2 separate regions of the Homo sapiens genome follow, and region 2 is linked to region 1. The links are contacts of gene promoters, found by promoter capture Hi-C in human tissues and cell types (Jung and others, 2019). All regions are on one chromosome and are shown on one strand. Each heading gives the region's core, a stretch centred on a gene start or on the middle of the fragment in contact. The rest is flanking DNA. Distances are from core to core; before and after follow the strand shown.

Region 1 (3,903 bases), core at 556-3,055:
AATGACAATTGATGACTCCAAAAATACCCAGGATAAATTGGATAGCCACGATTTTAGAAACTAAAGAGCTTCCCTTGAATTGTATCTAGTGAATACTCTCCAGGCTTCCTCCCTCCCAGTTGATTTCATTTGTCCATCAATACAACTTTTAATAGTTTCTCAAGTATGGAAATCAACCCCGCTATTTCCAAGGTACTGCTGAATGAAGACCTTGACATTTTTTTTAAATGTCATCTTAGAAAGATTCTCCAAGCAATACCAGTCTCACCTACGACATCTTCACGTTAAAAGGCCTCTACCGTACTCCATATACAGTATCCCAATACCAACCTGGCATCCTTCATCCTGAGCTATAACAACCAAGTTTCACTCAGCTATGTCCAGGTAACTGAAAGTATTGCTGGGGCTGCCTAACCTGCCCCATCAAGTTTTATACACACCCTGTGCTGAAGACATCTCACCAGAAAGAAGGTTCACTCACTTCATTTTGTGGGATCATAACCCACGGCACAGCAAACGCCTTCTGCAAGAGAAGGTAGGAGCCACCGAAGGCTGTGGCTTTTGCAGGGTAATTGCATGCACGCAAGAGATTCTCTGCCAATTTCATTTAACTAGACAAAAAAGGCTGCGTTCAAAGCTGCAAATATGTAATAAATGTTGATGGAAAGCGGGCGGAACGTCGATTTTCTTCAAGCAACACTAGTACATGTACAAGTTCTGCACCAGGGCTCAGAGGAAAAGTAGCTTACTGACGCATTGATGGAAGGCTATTTTAAAATTACTCAAAGAATCTAAGGCATCAATCTGACTGGGAGGCTCATACCTCCTCTCCATACACGCAGTCTGTTTTCCTACCTAATTTAAGAATGAATCGCTGGCAGCCACCAGGTGCAATAACCGTGAGGAGGAGGACGTATATCCATCACAATGCATAATGAGGTGTGCCAACCCCGGAGCTGGTGCCCGTCCTTACCTTAGCAGATTAGACAGGGGCAGGGGTCCGGATCCACCGCCCAGGATCCCTCCTTTCCTGCCAGACAGGAGTTTCTCCACCAGAGCCACATTTCCAGTGCGAGCAGCTTCCAGCAGCTCCTGGTCCTTCCCCATAGTCTCTCACCGACTCCCCCACAGAGTCCTTGCCCCCCTCGGGTCCTCCTCCCCACCCACCCCCACTCCCCAAAATCCAGGGCCCTCTTCGCCCCACCCTAAAATAATGCAAGAGCTTCAGCACGGAGAGCTCCCTGCAGCCCCAGGCAGGGAGCACGACTCTCTCCTCCTCTTCGGGGCGCAGCTTTTACAATGGGGATCAGACCATGTCTTGAAAGAGGGGCTGGCCGAGCTGGGAGCCGCGACGCGCCCCCACAGCCACTCCCCTGAATTCCCAAGGCCTCGTTCCCGCGGGTGCGGCGTGAGGGGGTGGGGACTCGGGGGTGCTTTTGAGGAGCGGGAGGAGGGTGGTGAGGACTGAGGTCGGAGGAGGAGGAGGAGGCGGCAGAGAGAGTCCTAGCTGGAGCGGGAGCGCAGGGAACACCCGCGGTGGCAGCAGCGGCCCGCGCGCCCTCGCGCCCGACCCGGGCTCGCCTCGGCTTCCTCGGCGGTTACGCGGGGGCGGCGTCCGCGGCGGGGAGGAGCGCGGCGGCGGCGGCGGCGGCTCGTGCGCTGTGGCCCGCGCCGAGGCAGGGCGGTGGGGGGCAGCCGCAGCGGGCGCGTGCCGAGGGCGGCGGCGGCGGCGAGGCCTGGCGCGCGGGGGGCGTGTGCGCGCGGGCAGGTGCGGCCCCTGGTGCGGCCCGAGTTGGGTGGCGGGCTGGCGGGGAGGGGCCGGGCCGGCTGAGGCGGGGCTTCGGCCCTGAGATTCTCTTCGTTCTCGTGGGCGGGGACCCTCCCTCCTCCACTCTCCTTGGAAGAGCGTTAACCGTGTGAGGACTGGAGTTCCCCGGGCCGCGTCGGCTCCTCCTCGGCCCGGCGGGCCCCGGCAACACGCCTCGGGTCTGTCACGACGCCTGAGGAAAATCCTCCGTGACAGGAATGGGGAGGCTGGTGACACTGGGGAGGGGCCCTTTGGCCACCGCTTCCATCAGAGTCTAGGCAACTTGACCGGCATTTCACCCTTCCGCTTTACCTCCCCAAGAGAGCCTGAGATCTGCCCTTGGTTAGAAAGAAGAGGCTCGTTTCGTCCTAGTTTCTGTGGCACTGGCCACCGAGCAGTTTGCGACTGTTTCAGTTTTTCTGGAGTCTTTAATCAGCCCATATTTTAGTTGGGCTTTGGAGATCTGCTGACTTGTAAGAATACCAGGAAAAAGGCTCTCATTGAAAATTTATCCACATCTACACTCGAAAAATATAAATGGGCATGGATTAGAGATCCACTTTAATTTGCATATATCATCAGCAATTCATTGTGCATGGTTGGCATGACTTGTTAGATGCTCTCCTTGGCCGTGGTGGAGAACGCGCGTTTATTTTCTATTAAAACTTCCTGTTACACCTTGTGCTTTGCATTGTCCTTGGAATAGACTTCATAAATGTTCACTTGTTGATAATTGATTGGTAAGAAGAGGACTTAATAGGCACTGTGCTTACAACAACCCAGTGAACTGGATATTATTATATCCATTTTAGAAATGAGGAAATAGGGCTCAAATGGTTAATTAAATTTCTCAAGATGCCACATGGAGTAAGTGGCTGACTCAGAACTAGACCCCAGAACAGACTCACTCCAGACACCATGTGCTTCCCAATATACGTTCCTGCCCCCCATGGAAAAGCGAAATGGACAGACAATAATTATTGCATGCATTTGATGAGTAGTTGCTACATACCAGACACTATGCTAAGTGCTTTCCATGTTCTCATTAAGCCTTGCAACAATCGCATGAGATAGGACCATTTTCATCTCTATTTTGGAGATGAAGAAACTGATTACCCGCAAGATAATAGGGATAGAAAGTAACTGAGCCAAGGCTCAAATCCGGCACTGTCTGCTGTAGGCAAAGATTTTCAATAAATAACTGGGGGAAACTTAAAAGGCATTTAGAGATAAATAACAAGAGTATATTAAAACATTTTTATGGAATTCATTGTGTTCTGAGATTTCATTTCAATGATTCAAAATATTAGGTAAATTATGGCTATTTATTGGAGGTTTCCTGAAGTATGTAGATTTTGGCTAGTGTAGTTTTTTAATTCATTTTGATTTTGTTTTCTGTGTTAGAATCTGTTTTAATAAGATAATCTATGTTATAATAATATAATCCCTGACATAATGGGACTAGCAGACCAATGAAAGAAACGAGATAAGGAGCCATCACATTCATTTTGAAAATGGCATAGGGAAATCCTTCTTCCTTTTTCCTAATGTTGCCACCTAAGCAAAACACACCTTTCCCAGAATATACTGTAAGTATTCAATTGGTCAGAACTGAAAATCACCCACAGTTTTCACAAGCAACATTTAATCATGGATGAGTTGGTGACCGCAGGCCCCGAGTCATCTTATCGAAATCATGCAGCCCCCACCCCCAATGGGAAAACCATTAGTAATGATTTACTCTAAGAATCAGTTCCACAGTTCGGGCATTCTACTGACATATGATAATCAAAGCCAATTTTTCAGCTTCAAACTCTTTGGTTTTAGTGACCTCATAACTTTGTTTTTCTGTAGACATTGCAGTGACTGCACCTCATAGTTTTTTGTTGAAGAGGATAAAGGCTTTGGCTACATGGGGACTAACATGCAAAATAAAAGTGAAAACATTCTTTTAAAAATCTACAGAGGCCAAAATAAATATCCAGATCTTTTAAACATCCAGATTTCATCAAGATGTTTTGCATCTGTGAATAGTGAAAAGAGTGATAGAATCTTGGGAACCAATTAGACAATCTCTATCTCAGTGTGTGCATAAG
Region 2 (4,374 bases), core at 75-2,574, 49 kb before region 1:
TACAGTCCTTTCTATTCCGATAAATAAATTAAAAAGCATAAACCATATATAAAATAACTTTTACAAAACAAAGTTAAACGTAAGAGATATAAATTACACTTGATATTCAAAGGATAGAAAGATCCTATTCACCTACAGAAGCAGAGTAAGTACCAATAAGGGGGTGGTCCATGAGATGGATGGGTAGAATAGATATATAACAAAAATCATTCCAGGGAAGAGAACACCTGACTATAGCCACAAAGTTGGGAAGGGATGGGGCGTGTTTAGAAAAGTGATAGTTTAGAAGCTTAGGCTGCATATAAGGATGTGTTCTTTTTCTGTAGATGCCTGACAAAAAAAAAAAAAAACTATACAGTTAGCATCTTAAAGAACGCACATTTACCATCTCACAGGTTTTGTGGTCAGGAGTCTGAATTAGCTAGGTCCTCTACACAGGGTCTCACAGGCTGAAATCAAAATGTCCACCAAGACTATGGTTTCCTCTTAAGCATAGGGCCCTCTTTTAACATCACTGGTTGCTGACATAATTCATTTCCCTGCAGTTTTAAGACAGACACTCACCCATTTTCTTGCTGTCAGTCAGGAGCCACTCTCAACTTCTAGATGCCACCAGCGATTCCCTGCCTAGTAGTCCCTCAATAAGCCCTCTAATGCTCCCAAGATTTGAATCTTTCTAACTTCAGAGAAAACCCAATCCCTTTTAAAGGCTCACTTGATTAGATCAGGCCCACCCAGATAATGGCCCTCTTAACTGACTTAAAGTCAACTGATTAGTGACCTCATCACAAGTGACTCTACAGGATGTGTACCCTATAGGATGACGTATTAGTCCATTCTCACATTGCTATAAGGAAATACCTGACACTGGATAATTTATAAAGAAAAGAAGTTTAATTGACTCACAGTTCCGCATGGCTGAGGCCTCAGGAAACTTACAATCATGGCAGAAGGCACCTCCTCACAGGGCAGCAGGAGAAAGAATGAGTGCAAGCAGGGGAAATGCCAGATGTTTATAAAATGATCAGATTTTGCGAGACTCACTATCACAAGAACAGCATGGGGGAAACCAACCCCATGATCTGATTACCTCCACCTGGTCCTGCCCTGGATGTATGGGGATTATGAGGATTACAATCCAAGGTGAGATTTGGGTGGGGACATGGAGCCAAACCATATCAGGTGAGAATCTTGGGAGCCATCCTAGAATTCTGCCAAGCATAGCTGGTAACAGAAGATGAGAACAAAAATTCTCAAAAGCTAAGCCAAAATTAAATAGTTTTCCATCCTATATTTCTGTCTCCAAACGTTATGCTACTTGTAAAATACACAGGGATAATTAGGCCAGGCACAGTGGCTCACACCTGTAATCCCAGCACTTTGGGAGGTCAAGATGGGAGGATCACTTGAGGCCAGGAGTTCAGGACCAGCCTGGCCAATATGGCAAGACCCCATCTCTTAAAAAAATGGATAATTACAGTTGCAACTGAGAAACCTCCCATATTTGGTAACTGTCTACTCTTTGGCTATTTGTGGTACTCATTTATTATAAGGCCTATGTTACTGACTGGGAATATCTACTTCTCCCTTCGCAGTCTTTTATTCAATATAAACCATTCCTACCTCTGTTTGCTGTACTCTTGGCTGCCTTGTCTGTTACTGTTAGATTAATATTTAACTTACTAAGGTCCTCCTCACTCCACAAAGACCTAGCCTCTTTATTACTTTTTTCCCGCTATTTTCAGCCATTACTTTTGTGACCTTGCATAAATTCACACTAGAAAAGTGTAAGTATTCAATGGTTATATAGCTTCCAACTTTGTTTTTGCAGTTTTATAACCTTATTTGATGTATTCAATGATCAGTAGTTTGTTCTCATCTACACTGAATGACTATAGATTTTTTAAAGTGGAAACAGGTACATAGGTAACCAAAGTATACAGCTTGCTTGGGAACCTTCATCCTCATTATGTTTCTGGACAACCACATATGGATACAGTATGGGACATCCCTTAACCTTAGGCCTAGTCAGCTTTGTTGAACCTGTTATCAATACGCACATCTGGAGTTCCCATCTCCTTCATGATGGCAAATTTCTGGATCTCTCTGAGTGCCCCAGGGGCATGCTTCTTGAAGCCCACTCATGGATGTGCTTCTGAGTGTTGATGGTGTATTCTTGTGTCACCACCTCATTGACAGCAGGAGAGCCCTTCTTCTTCCCACCCTTCTCTGCAGGGGCCATTCTGCCAGGCCAAAGTTGGAAAGTAACCTCCATCTTAACTACCCAAGAAAGAAGAAAAACAAACAGCATAGCTTTGGTGTAAGCAAAATGTCAATTCTACAGCTACATGGTCAATAAGTATACACATAATTAATATTTCTACAATGTTGAATATGATTATTTAGGAAAACAAGTCTCAGAGTTAGAAATACCCACTTCTCCTTTGATCTGGCAGCTTATATTCTTCTCACAGACAAAAATCAAAAGCCCTTGATAATTTTGCCTGCTGATTGGGAGGCAATGCTGATAGACAAAGAAGTAGAACACTATGAAAAGAAGGCCTCCTGATACAGTTGCTAGTCTTTCCTGACAACGTGGCATATGGTTCCAAATCTTCAAACAGCTATCATATTGCTACACTGATTTAACAAGGTGATCTGTATTCTCCCAAATTAAATACATGTAGAGCACTAGGATACCTTCTTCTGAGAAAAGGGGTATTTATTTTCTTTCTTTGATACTAGATTTATAGCATAACAGTTAAGCCTGCAAGTACCAACTGAGTTTCTACTAAGTGTAACACATTGTCTAGTAGGTGGGTGATGGTAGCAAAGAGAAGATACATGATAAATCAGTCATGAATCCTGCCCTCAAGTTATATATAATAAGTGAAAAGAAAATCCTGGGAGCAGAATCGACCCAATTTTCCTTTCTCTTCTGATGTCAGGTGGGCTCTGAACACAATCCTCATAATCCCCATTTCCTAGTTTCCATGCACCATTGTGATCCCTCCCCTTGAGTATGGGCAGGACCTGTGGCTTGTTTCTAGTCAAAAGAATAAGCAAAGGTGACACGACAGATGGGATACATGTACATGACTATGTGATTATGTTACACAAACTTGTCATACCCATTTTGTTGGAGTCTCTGTCTTTTACCGGCTTTAAGGAAGCAAGTGGCCATATGGCCAGGAACTGCAGGACGATTCTAGTTGCTGAAGCTGGCTCTGGACTGATAGCCAGCAAGAAATTGAAACCCTCAGTCCTACAACCACAGGAATTAAATTCTGCCAACAGCTGAAATGAGCTTGAAAACATCTCCTTCCCTAATTGAGCCCCAGTTGAGAACTAAGTACTGGCAAATATGTTGATTGAAGCTTTGTGAGACCTTGAGCAGAGGATTCAAGTCAGCTGTGCCCTGACTCCTGGCCCCAAAAACTATGAGACAACAAGTACACATTGCTTTAAGCCACTAAGTTTATGATAATATTGTTATACAACAATAGATGACTAACACATCTTTCTTCTTATATTATTCAAGTTGCTAACATATCATAAGAGGTAAACTCAAGTATTCTGAACATCCAGTCACCACTGGTGACATGAAATCCCCAGCCCACATGCTAGAGAAAACCAGAGTTGGTCACACAGCCAGACCCTTTTGTAAGATTCAAGCGGCAATTTGCCACCAATATTGCCAAAATAGCCAGTATGGCTGCCCAATTAACAGATCAAAAACTAAAGATCAGCTGCTAATTCCTGCCTTGTACATTCTCAGAGAGTAAGGACCTTCCATTTCCCGACTAAATGCTCAGAATGAGCCATCAGGCCTGTTAGGTAAAAATGAGAAATTTGAAGGATCAAGCGGCCCCGCAGACGCTGGTAGAGAGGGCAAGCTTAAGGTGTAGAAGAAAACTGTCATTCCCACTTAATCCAAAAAAGTAAAAATATATGCCTCCTATTTTCTTTCAGATATAATAACCACCTTTTCTTAAACAATAGCTTATTTGGGGGCCTGCATTCATTACAAACAAACCAGAGTAGGCTTATATATCATCTGAAGGTTCTTTTTTAAAAAATTTCTTTTGAGACAGGGTCTTGCTCTGTCACCTAGACTGGAGTGCAGTGGCACAATCATAACTCACTGCAGCCTCGACCTACTGGGCTCAAGGAATTCTTCTGCCTCAGCCCCTGAGTATCTAGGACTACAGGTGACTGTGACCACAGCCAGGTACTTTTCTATTTTTTGTAGAGATGGGATCTCACTGTGTTTCCCAGGCTGGTCTCAAACTCCTGGGCTCAAGCAATCCTCCCACCTCAGCCTCCCAAAGTGCTGGGATTACAGGTGTGAGCCACCATGCCCAGCTAATTTTT

What was found. The method cuts DNA at HindIII sites, captures the fragments that hold promoters and counts their contacts. A contact is called where the count stands out against the background at its distance.
Region 2: a contact is called between a fragment that was not itself captured here and the fragment with the promoter of ANKS1B in region 1, in 1 of the 25 tissues and cell types used here (small bowel).

Annotation. Positions count from the first base shown.
Region 1 is chr12:99,983,131-99,987,033 of GRCh38, forward strand. It overlaps ANKS1B (ankyrin repeat and sterile alpha motif domain containing 1B), which reads right to left and starts at 1,806. Exons shown (of 27, transcript NM_001352186.2): 1 at 974-1,806. The coding sequence starts at 1,107. RefSeq lists an enhancer at 836-1,666 and a silencer at 1,779-1,828. The HindIII fragment of the contact is 20,528 bases long and covers 1-3,903 here.
Region 2 is chr12:99,935,023-99,939,396 of GRCh38, forward strand. The region is part of intron 1 of ANKS1B (ankyrin repeat and sterile alpha motif domain containing 1B); the gene reads right to left. Among named protein-coding and RNA genes, the nearest start is that of ANKS1B, 48 kb to the right of the region's middle. The HindIII fragment of the contact is 4,624 bases long and covers 1-3,636 here.